Linked DNA regions of Homo sapiens: region 1 is linked to region 2. The links are contacts of gene promoters, found by promoter capture Hi-C in human tissues and cell types (Jung and others, 2019). All regions are on one chromosome and are shown on one strand. Each heading gives the region's core, a stretch centred on a gene start or on the middle of the fragment in contact. The rest is flanking DNA. Distances are from core to core; before and after follow the strand shown.

The links. The method cuts DNA at HindIII sites, captures the fragments that hold promoters and counts their contacts. A contact is called where the count stands out against the background at its distance.
Region 1: a contact is called between a fragment that was not itself captured here and the fragment with the promoter of TMEM154 in region 2, in 1 of the 25 tissues and cell types used here (aorta).

Annotation. Positions count from the first base shown.
Region 1 is chr4:151,618,699-151,624,847 of GRCh38, reverse strand. The region is part of intron 7 of FHIP1A (FHF complex subunit HOOK interacting protein 1A); the gene reads right to left. Among named protein-coding and RNA genes, the nearest start is that of GATB, 140 kb to the left of the region's middle. The HindIII fragment of the contact is 5,758 bases long and covers 1,608-6,149 here.
Region 2 is chr4:152,676,694-152,682,584 of GRCh38, reverse strand. TMEM154 (transmembrane protein 154) reads left to right here and starts at 2,588. Exons shown (of 7, transcript NM_152680.3): 1 at 2,588-2,715. The coding sequence starts at 2,652. LOC105377495 (a long non-coding RNA gene) reads right to left here and starts at 2,500. Exons shown (of 4, transcript XR_939359.3): 1 at 2,281-2,500; 2 at 1,912-1,998; 3 at 1,445-1,510; 4 at 923-1,222. RefSeq lists enhancers at 2,505-2,814, 2,125-2,954. The HindIII fragment of the contact is 4,840 bases long and covers 1-4,259 here.

The sequences.
Region 1 (6,149 bases), core at 3,237-5,736, 1.1 Mb after region 2:
GTTGATGATTCCGGCTCCCTCCCGTCGGCTCCCCTATGCCTCCCTTCTGCTCCCCGACCTCTAGGCCACACGCTACACTGCTAGCACCGCCAGAGGCCAGCTGGGGAGGTGAATGGAGGTGACAGCCAAAGTCAGCAAGTTTGCTGATTTATTCCTAAAATATTTGAGGAAGGAGGAAACAGACTGGCTACAATGAGGATTTCAGTAACGTATTTTGAGGAAAGTGTATTAAAATAAAAGCCAATCTCTGCCCTTTTTCTCCCAGCATTTCTTCAATGGATCTGTAATACATTAAATATATTAGTATAATAAATTTATGCCTTCTGGGAGAAAAGGGAAGCAGTGAACAAATGGCTTTTCAGGGTCCTTCCAGGCCCTGAATAGTGAAACACCGCTCATCTCCCCAATGGAATTTGGAGCTGGGGTCTGTCTGCCTGGGGAAAAACCAGGTACAAGAGGCACACGTGGGAGGCAGTGCCACTCACACCACAGGCAGTGGTGGTGCTCCCAAGGCCATGTGGCTTCCTCACTGAGCGCTGCTTCCCTGGAGCTGCTCTCAATGCATTTAACTGGCCCAAATTTGAGGTACCTGAATAAACACTGACTACCCGTCCCCGAAGTACAAACTTTAGTATCTGGGATTTGGTTGATTGTTTTTCTGCATTTCCCATTTTGTTCTCAGTGTTCAGATTACCTTGTCATGAATATTGTCAAATGCTATGGATGCTGCTCCTTTGGGGTTCCTAACTTTTCCTATACCTCCTCGCAATGGGAACATATCAGGAATGGCCCTATTCAACAAACATTTATGCAGGTGTGAAAGCTCTGTACTGGGTGCTGGGGACAGAAAGATGAACAAAACACAGTTCTGAGTGTTTTGCTGTTGTAAGCAGAAGGCAAATGCATTAGTAAATTCTACTTAAGACCTGAACTTATGTGAGGTCTATATCAGAAGTTATGTTAGCCTTGCAGAGAATACGGTTGCCAGCTCTGAGCAGAAAATGAGGTTTTGAGGAAAACAGCGAGAGGAAGATAATAGAGAGTGGTTTTCAGAAAAAGGAGAGGCTTTGGAGCTACACAAACTAGAGTTCAAATCCTAACATTTATTACCTTTATAACCTTTATTGTGTTATTTAATCTAAGCCTGTTTCCTCCTCTGCAAAATGGGGATAATCAATATCTTTGAAAGTATTAAGAGGATTAAAGAGAATGTGCATAAATCTCAACACATAGAAAGGACTCAGTAAAGGATGGCTATTATTTCCTGACTTGGGTCATCAGTTTAAAATAAGCCAAATTGAGGCGAAAAAAAAAAAAAAAAAAAAAGGACCAGGAAGTCAGCGGGAGTGTTGGTGGCAAAAGAACAAAATTTGCCTGTCTGTACATATTTTCGGGGGTGGAGGGGGAAAAGTACAACCTCCCTTATAGAAAATGAACACCTCATCCATTTCCACTCCCTCCCCATTCCCTCCCAGGCATTTTATAGAATCAGAAGATTTTGAGGTGGTCACAAGGGATAGGCTACCTCAGCCCCAAAGATTCAGTGTGTCCTAGAACAGGCTGTGGTTAAGAGGGGACACAGAAACTCCCTAAAACATATTTTCATCTGTATTTGCCAATGTTAGCCAATCTAAACCTGATTCTAATCCCACAGGACAAGCTGACCAATACTGACAGAACAAGAATAAAGCTGTCATTGCCAATAAAAATGGTCCTATGTCCAATGGGCCGATGCTGCAACTAGCGTTGGCCAAGTTGAAGGGTTACTGCTTTCATCACATCCAAAGTTATTTTTGCTTGCTTATCATAAACCTCTCTCCTTGGAGGATTCAGCAAATGGCTACGTCTATAGCCTCCTTTCCTATACTATGTGTGCATAACTTGTACCCTACAGCTTCATTATGATATAATTTATTAGAGTATAATGCAGTATATGATCCATTATACTTGAACCTCATCTAATAAAGTTTAACTATTGAATACCCAAATAACCCATAAGAAAGGTAATTCATAGCATGGTCCTGAGGTAATAATTAACAAGGAAATATGGGGGCATTTTGGCTCAGAAACAAAGATCTGAGGGGTATTCCAAAGATCACTTGGTTCTTCTCTTTCTTGTTTACTAATTGTTCCACAGAGTCCTTTTTTGATTCAAACTTCTTGGTTACAATTTAAGAAACAATAAAAACAACATCACTGACCAGTTACTGAGCACCGAGTATGCAACTAAGGACTATTCGAAGCATATTGTTTCAGTTATTTGAGTCCCAACAATCTTATGAGAACTAACTCCAGATGGTCCAAGCAGAAAAGATACTTACTGAAGGGGTGTCTCACAGAATCACCAGAAGGCTGGAGAGACAGGCTTAGAAAGAAAAAGAGGTCTGGTGCTGGGCTGCCAAAACACAGACACCCACGACACCCTTCTTTCAAATTCAAACAGAGATTACACGGCTTCTTTCAGCAACACAGCTTAGTCGAGGCTCATAATCTTTTGCATCAGAAGAAAGTACTCCTCATTATAAAGGGAGATTCCACCTGCTGTAATTTAAATTGTACCTTACCCTGCCCTCATCTTAATAAGTGGTGATGGAGAAATGCTGTCCCCCCAAAACTCAACTTTCCTATTCCAGAATTCTTATTAAACCTCTCAGACTCCCCTTTTCTAGGCTGTCAGTTCCCCTTCTCAGTTTTCATAATACACATATTCATCCTTTAAGATTGCAAACTTACTGCAGAAATGACTACAACTGACCTGCAACATGAATTCTCAAAGGACCTGATGCACCACCAGGTACTCAGAGTAATCAATAAATGTGTCAAGATGGAAATCAGCAGCCCTGTTACTAATAAAAACACTGGATTTCCAACAGCCCATGTTGGGGATGCCTTCCTTAGCAGGGTAGTTATATTAATTTTACAATGCCTGAACAGCAGGGGAAATTTTCCATTTATAGTGAATAACATTTCATTGAAAATGCAGAGCGTAACTCATTCCATGCTCTTCAATTATGGCAACCTCGAAAAGTGATCCACTGGAAAAAAAAAAAAAGAAATGCTTCCTCAGGCTTCTCCCTATTTATCTTCCTGATTAATAAGACAATACTACTGAATGCTGATGAGACTGACTTTAAAACCCACAGTAGAGGGGAAATGGTCCATGGGCCAGAACCCCAACCAGCAGCTTCTCTAGAATGAAGTATCTGAGAACCACTGCAAAAACGCAGCATCTAATGCCTGCCATTCCATTCCACGCAACCCCCCCAACTCCTCCCCCACGCACCCCCCACCACCCCCTGCCACACACACACAATCTCCCTGATGGGTTAAATGTATCATTCGGCAGTGGAATTTAAGTTTAGACCAATTTTCCTAGACACTCAAACTGTAACAAAGTAACAAAGCAAGCTCTGATGATAAAAGACAGATTTCACTCCTAGCTTATTTTCCATGAGCACCGGAAAGACCTCAATACAATGGGAAGGCAGAAAACACACACATATCTGCCCAAACAAATTCAATAATTGCAGTTATTCTGTTCGTTTCTCTCTGTTGTCCCAGACCTGCACATCATCTGGCACTGGATAATCACAGAGGAGCATCCCATCAGAATGATTCCTGCTTTACCTCACCTGAAACGCAAGTCAGACACAAAAATGAGGGGACAGCAAGCCCTCAAAAAAAACTTAGTGTGCGGTGAGAGAAAATTTAGCAAGAAGATAAAATAAACAGACTAAACTCCTTCTCTGTTTTCCTTGCTTTTTGGTTTTCTTACTTGAAGAAAATCTTGCAGGGCCTTTGTTGCTGATAAATTTTTAATGTTCTCTTAGGATAGTGCAGGGAAAGAATAAAAGATTCACACCAACTTTCAGACCAGATCTTCCCTCCACTCTCTGCATTTGTTTCCAAGATGAATACCACCTGGCTGCCTTAGATAAGGTGGGGTTTTGTGTGGGGTTTTTTTTTTTTATTCTCGGTGTGTAGGGAGGGTGGGACCCTTTCTATCTTTTCATAATTCTGATGCTTAAGAACCCAATCGTTTGGTACCATTATCTCCCTCATGCACTTGTTGAAGTTAAAAAAAAAAAAAGATATCTAATTTTCCATTTCAAATCAGAGATCAATGTAAGCTTAATTTATAATGCTAATTTCCTTTCCTACAATGGAAGAGAAGTAATGGAGAGGTCAGGGATGAGGAGACTCTGTAGGACCTGTAGATCTACTCAGCCTCTGAAAATTTACTCTGTGCCTATTTGTGATAAGACAATGCATACAGTTTTGTCAGCTAACTTCTATTATTTTAAAAATATAAAACCAGGCAAGAAGAGCTATACTAGAAGAAGGGACAGAATCAGGTATGTCAGGGTCAAATGCTTAAGACGACCTCTAGGCTAGTTGAGACTGGCCTCTGAGCCACAGCCAGCCCATATAGGGCATTTCTGCAAATTAGAAATAGATCTCTTTGGGCAAAGTAGCCCCCCAAGCCCACAGTTTGGTAAGCAGATGGCTTGGCCAGAGAAGAAGGTGTCTTCTGCCAATTAGAGAAGGGTGCCTCTTCCTGTGGGTGGACACAGCCCCATGCCAGGACACAAAGTCTGGCAAATGGAACATGAACACCATCTCTCCTATCTGCACCCTCAGCAGGCTGCCCTTGTGCAGTAGACAACCTGCCCAACTCTATGCAGTGGCCCTGCAAAGCTTGTGCCTTTCCAATAATTATAATAATAGAAATTTCCAGTTTCCCATCAATGGAAATGAAATTTTGTTTACATGTAAGAAGCTTTGAGGTTTATGGCAGGCACTACTAAATGTCTCCCCAATATTTATTCTCCCTCTCTTCCTTGGGAATAAACCCTGACTTTATAATAAAAAACCACATTTCCCTGCTTCCTTTGCATCTAGATGTTACTATGTATGTTTTGGCTAGTGAGTTGTAAATAGAACTGGTGTGCAGAATATGAAAGGATCATTAAAGGGAGTTTTCTGTAATGTAAAGGGAGTTTTCTGTTATCCACAGCTAAACCTTAGGCACACCGATTCAGTGTTTTCTCTGAGTAAGAGAAATAAAATATGCTTTGTAAGTAAATTGCTATAGATATCTCAACCCCAGCAAACACTTAGAACAGTGCCTGGCATATATTGGGTGCTTAAAATATATATGTTGAATGAAATAATTAACAAATGAATGTTTTAGAACTGAAGAATACCAACTAACATTTATTCGCAGCCCATGATAAAGCAGAAATGTAACATCAAGTAACAAGTAATCTAGTAACATTCTCCCATTCAGTGTTTTCAAACTTTTTAACACTAAGACTCATCAAAATAAAAATATTTTACAATAATATCTAGTACTCACCATTACTAAGTGCAATGCACTCTGATATTTTCTATTTTATTCAACTTTAAATTGTGACCTACCAAATTGACTTCATGACTTACTCATGCAACAACTCAGTGTTTGAAATCTGTTTAAAAATATACACTAGACAGACTAACTTCTCTATTAGCTTTTCTGTTAACTAACCAATAAGAGACAACACTAACATTTAATTTTTTAAGTTAAAAACCAAAAATTGTTTTAATTTACTGGAAAAAAACAGTGGCACAAATGACCAAAACACTACTTATATTTTGTTTGCTATTTTTGTACAATAGTTAAATATGATCATGGATGTCTTGAGAAGTCTACAACATAAAGCAAGTAATAAGGCTGTCCTGGAAACCCCTCCCTGAGAGCTGGCTAGCTGACCTGTCCTTCTCAGGTATCAGCTCCCGCTTCCTGTTCCACTCTGGCACAGGGCAGCATCCTCTCTCAGCACTCATCAAAGCCAGGCCATCCTTTCTCCAATCTGGGGTTCATAACCTTCTACCCTGGGTGCTTAAGGTACTTGCATTAACCGATCTCTTTGCTGATCAGGGAATCACAAATGTGCTCCCTTTCTCAGCCAGGATTCTCTCAGGGTCTCCAGATGATAATTTAAAGAAGAGAAAAACATCATGGAGTAGTAGAAAATGGTCTGCAATGGGAATGAATATAAGACACTTGCATTTTAATTCTTAGCATCTGGTGACCATGGGCAAGTGAAGTAATATTCTGGTGTCCCAACTGCTACAAACGGAAAACAAGCCTGATGTCTCAGGCCTGC
Region 2 (5,891 bases), core at 1,339-3,838:
GGATCGGAGTGTGAAGAGGAACGCGGAGAAGGCTGTCTGCACCCACTGGAAGATCCTATCATTTATCTGGATTTGTTCCCTTGGAGTCCCTCTTCTTTTATGGCCCATGGAGTGGTGGTGGGGAGGGGGCGGGGGGAAGGGAGGGAGGATAGGATGAGAGTCACTTCTGTAGCACAGACAGTTGATTGTAAAAGTCACACTCCTTTGTGTAAAGTAATAAAGAGTCCCTAGACATGGTTCCCAGTGTCCCTTCCTGCCCTTCTGAACATGATGAAGCACCATACTTCTTTCCTGCTTTCAGACAGCCAATGGCAGGCTCCAAAGTGGCATTACCCCTGCCTGTGTGCCACTCACTCTGAGGTTCCCCTGTGCCCCACATCTGGGACTGAGGCCCTGACTTCCTGCCACCAGTGCATCGGGATTTAATCTGAGGCTGGGTGGCTATTTGCCTAAATTAATGGTTGCTAAAATTAAAACAGAGGTAAATAGCCCTTTACCTACCACACAGCCTCCCTGGGATTTTAACTGCAGCAAAGAGATCATTGAGGTGCTACCATTTTCTGATCAATCATGGTAATTTTCTTCCCCCTAAGATCAGCTTAATCATGCTAAGGGTCTTAGAGAGCACAGGGGTCAAAAGAAAATTACATGGTTGGGCAGGATTTCTCTGCAGCTCCAGTTTATTTTGTACCTCACTCTGATTTAGTGTTGCACTGCTCAGAAGCAATGCATAGTGCACTTGTTGAAACAGTAATGAACTGTTTGGCCATGTCATGGGGCTCAGCAGAGGTCCACAGAATAAGACAGTCTGTGGTCCAATCCACAGACACCTGACTGCAAAAGCTTCCACAGGGAGCTGAAGTTTAAGATGAAAGAAACGAAGGCTGACAACCTTGCCCTTGACAAACATTTGCCTCCAGCCTGGGATTCAACAATGTTTTAATAACATTTAATAATATTTTAATAGGGCATAAATGGTAAAATGGAGAGAACTCCCAAGCCCTGGGCCTGCTTTCTTGCACGTGTGTGTCACAGCTGCAGAAACACGTGCTTGTACAGGAATAATTGCCACCCCAACTCAGTACCAGCAGGTCTTGGAGCCCGTGATCTATTCACATGCTCAGCAAGTGTTTAATTAATAGTTCTTTCTCTGTTGTTTTCAAATCAATCACCCAGTTTTGAGCACGTCTATTTTCTCCTGCTGTTTGTTCTGTATTGTCACCTGTGGTGCAAAAAGCATATTTTATCAAGAATTGACTTAATTGCCAGTTTAAAACATTAAAGTGCATACTGTAAATCCATTAACAAACTGATCCTTACATGAATCACCAACCTATTTCTTGTGAATAATAACTGAGATAAACAGTGACTAATGACATTGAAAAGCAGCAATGCATTAAAGAAAAATTAACAGCTATGTCAGGGGCTAAGGAATTCCAGTCACCTCATACGTTTGCACCAACCAGATCACTGAAGACAAACGACGGGAAGTCATGACTCAGATGGTGATCTGCAGGGAAAGGTTTAGAGATGAGATGTGTCTGATGCCTCAACACTACCCCTCTCTCCATCTGTCTGTCTCTCTTGGCACCACGATTATGAAACTGCATTCTGAATGCTTAGGCCCTAAACCTAAACCAAGGGAAGGACCTCCAATAGAACACCCAACACACACTAATCTCCACTGTATACTAGACACAACCTTTCTGTATTGTTTCGATTGGATAGGATTTCTACCATTATTCTATTTCGTTTCTGTCCTGTTTTGTTTGTTGTCTGAGAACTTGATTGTCAAGTAAGAAGGAAGGAAGGTGAGATGCAGATTCACCCCTACCTCCACCCTCAGAGCATATTCTCCTTTGGAAATGGACCTTGAAAAGATCATTTCTCTCTGGGGAAGCAGAACATAACCTTAAGGTGTGGGTGTGGCATCCACCTCCATCTGGCGTGGGCCTTGGTGGGAGGAGGGCATTCCAGAGTGGAGAAAGGAGAATGGACCTGGCGGAGAGAAGTGGTCTGGCAGTTTTCTGATGATGCAGTTGTCCCTGCTGTCTGGGCCTGCGCTATCCAACACAGCAGCCACTAGCCACTTGGAGTTATTAAAATTTTATAAAAATTCAATAAAATTTAAATTCCATCAGCACTAGCCTCAGTTCAAATGCTCAGTGGCCAATGTGGCTGATACTGTATCAGACGGCGCAGACTTGGAACATTTCCATCAGGGCAGAAAGTTCTACAGGACAGCTTCTTCCTAGGGTCTAGGCAGCCCCGGAGCCTCACCTGGGGGATAAGCAAAATCACAGAGTGAGAATGCGTGTGGTCCAGGACCCCTCCCAGTCCCAGATACCGAACGACATCTGAGCAAGGGACTCTGTTGCCCCGGGGACGGTTTCAAAAGCTGGAGGCCGGGACTCCAAAGGGCTGGAGAGGCGTGATAATAGAACCAGTGCTTCAACAGCAACTTCTCTTTTGCAATCCTTGCTGGTCTGACAGGCTCCTGCAGAATTACATCACTTCCTAAAAAACAGGCACACACCTCTCCTTCAAGTCAGCACCGACCCAAACAAGCAGGAAACAGGAAATGTTCACGTTTCAGAGAGGCTGCAGCCCGGCGCAGCATCCTGAGCGCGCCTCTGCCGAGGCGAGCGGACATGCAGGCTCCCCGCGCAGCCCTAGTCTTCGCCCTGGTGATCGCGCTCGTTCCCGTCGGCCGGGGTAAGCCGCCTCCACTTCCTACTCCTGGGAAGGAGGATCGCAAAAGCTGGTAGGGTGCCCGAGGCTACAGAACTCTGCCGGGGAGGGTGACACCCAGAAAATCTAATCCTTTCTGTGAAAGAAGTGGAGAAAATTAGAACTCCTTTTTTTGGGGGGTGGGATGGAGAGGGGACTTCGCTTTCGCTGCAGCTGTCTAAACTGGCTACAGCTCTCACTTCATTTAACCCTCTTTCAGTCTTTGTCTTCCAGGAAGTGTGCGTCCCTGTAATTTACCAGCTTTAATGGGCATATTAAGAAAACCATAAACTTTTTGGCAGTTTATGTAAAAAAAAACAAAAGCTTCAATTGGCTGAAACAGAGACATGATTAATTTGCTTTTTATGGTGTGGGCTGAGAAGTCTGCTGATTCCAAAATCTCCTGGAAAAACTGGGGTGTGAAAATTTACTACTAGAAAGCATACTAAAGAAACGACATAAACTTAAAAAAAAAAAAAGGAAACGGGAAATTATCCGAAGAGCTACCAAAGAGCTATGTGTTAGAGGGTAGCCCTCTAACACATCAAGTAAGGTCTTTCATCTACTTTTATTGCACCTTGTTACTTTTACAGATTTTTTTTTTGCATTGATTGTTACTAATGAAGATTTGTTTGAAAAAGTAATATGATTGGAACCAATCAAAGGTATTGGAAAAAACAATATTGAATCTCATTATTATGGGCTAAAAGCAACAACTGATTTACACCCTTGCCAGTTGCTACAACAAGCACAAGCACCTTCAGCTGCCTCTCTTGTTGACTTGCCTTTGGGCAAATACACTGGCTGCCCATTGTTTCTGTCAATGAACACCGACTGCTTCTAGTGTAGGGCAGTATTTACCAAGCAAAAGGAAAGTTCTCAAGCTACAGTTCTTTAGATAGAATGAGGGACATCAGCCCCAACCTAACAGATGTGACAACTTCCTGGAGGTCAGCAGCCAGCACCCAGCCACCCCACTCCATCAATTTCTCTTCCCCTGGGTGTTCTCCATGTGGTCCCCCAGGCATCTGAGGTAGAAAACAAAGTGGAAGGCAAATCATTCCAGCTGAAAAGATGTCTGGTTAAATTGAGTTTAGTGTTCAGAGTGGGTTTGGAAGTTGATGTGTTGTTTTATGCCCAGTGTTTTGGAGCTGGAAGGGAACTTGAAGATGATGCAGCTCAAACCATATTGGGCACACAGGTGAAGAAACAGAGGTGGAAGAAGGGAGATGTCTGGGTCTTGCTGCTAGTCAGCTCTTCTGGCTTCTACTCCAGAGTTCTTTGAGCTCCTCCACCCCCCACCACCACTGCCCCCCTCCCCCCACCGCCGCCCCGGAACCAATCACTGTCTCTGCCAAGAGCTCTGGAACCTTTCGTAGTAGGACATCAGGGAAGAAAAGCCTAGCCATCCTCCTTCCACCTCTTCTATTGCACAACACTGCCACAGGTGCCTCAAACACTCCCTTAATACTAATTCATCTTGCCTGAACTTTTTTTTTAGCTTCTAAAAAATGATTGAGTCCTAGTGTCTGCAATTCAGGAGATGCAAAAAGAGAATCTGAAGAGACTTGGTTAAAGTTGCCTTTCTGACACCTGAATCTGATCGTGCACATCTTCCCCCTTAAGGACCCCTCATTTATGCCCCTTCACTTGTTCCTCATTTTTGCCCCTTAGACTCTCACTGCAACCTCCTTCCCAGTGGCACCTCCTTCCAGTTGTCGTCCCCCTCCGTGGCTCTTGCCTATAATGAATACATTCTTTTTCCTACCTAGCAAATTCTTGTATCACCTTAAAAGTATCAAACTAAATGTGATCTCCTCCTTGATGTCTCCTTTCTCTGCCCCTTCCCTGGAGCTCTACTCGTACCTGCTGCTGTGCCCCGATAGACCTAAACTTCTGCTAATCACTTTGAACCATAATTGTGTCCATGCCTCCCAACTGGCTGTGAACAGCTCCAGGGAAAATCCTCTGTAGTTCACCTTTGACTTTCCAAAATCCTGTAAGGGCTCAGCATAAATGAGAAAATAATTGTTGATAAATATGAAAATCATCCCTAGAATGGATATGAGGCTGATTACAAAAAAAACTGATAGCTCCTGAAAACAGGTAGTGTTGGAATGTAAAGAGAAGTCAAAGATGAAAAGTTGCATTTCAGTAGAGTGCAGGGATTACCTAAATAATCCAACATGCTAATTGGGCCCTGCTGGGATTCCCAATGTCTGAAAAATGCCCACTTGCAAAAAGCTGTTGAATAAAAGCTATGACTTTGAGATGATTCATCATGGAAAAGGTGATTTTAAATTAAAGATTTTTAAAATTAATTAATGTACACTACTTTTAGCTAATAGTGCCTAAGGCTTCAGGATATGAGTTACTTTCTAGGTGTCACAGGTATATTTCCTTGAATTCTTCAAAAAATACCTGGGGATGTTTGTTAGATGAATCCAACCTACTGAAGGGCCTGACACTGTTTGTGAGTATACTCTGAGATGTATCTCAAATTAAGCCTTTATTAACAACGAGCAGGCAACATGAGATAATATCTGCAGTTGCATGAGACCAGCACTGTTACCTCTGAGTCAGCGACCTCTTCTCTTTTTAGAGATAGATAGCCTGACATAGAATTGAGTTCTACCCCAAGAGAAATAATTCACTTGGAAGTCACCAGGAGAGAAATAAGAAAGCAGCTTTTCTGGGACTATAATGGAATGGGTGAGCATAGTTAAAGGAAAGCTTGGGCCTAGGTGCCTTGGCCAGTGTAGGATCCTAAGAAAGTTCAAACTCAAGGAGATGTTCTGCTCATGGAGTAAAGTGGGGCAGGGGTGTCCCCGTCTCTGTTCTTTATGCCCTGTCAGTGTCAGCTTAATACTATCAGAAAACCAAAAGCAATTTCCTAAATACCAAAAGCATGGGATTTGTTAGTTGCTAAAAGCAGAATTGTTGCAGAAGGGAGAGCTGAAGGCCATGAGGCAGAAACAAGGATGCTGTGACTGTTTTGGTGGCCAAACAGAGAGGAATGGGAGATTTTCTGGGCTGGTTCAGAAGAATAAGAATTATATAAGTATTGGATGAATCTTGACAAGGAGAGAAAGAATAGTAGAAAATACTAGCTATGTAAGTAAGGCTACACATTCTGACACTGTGGTATCTCATATCTTATT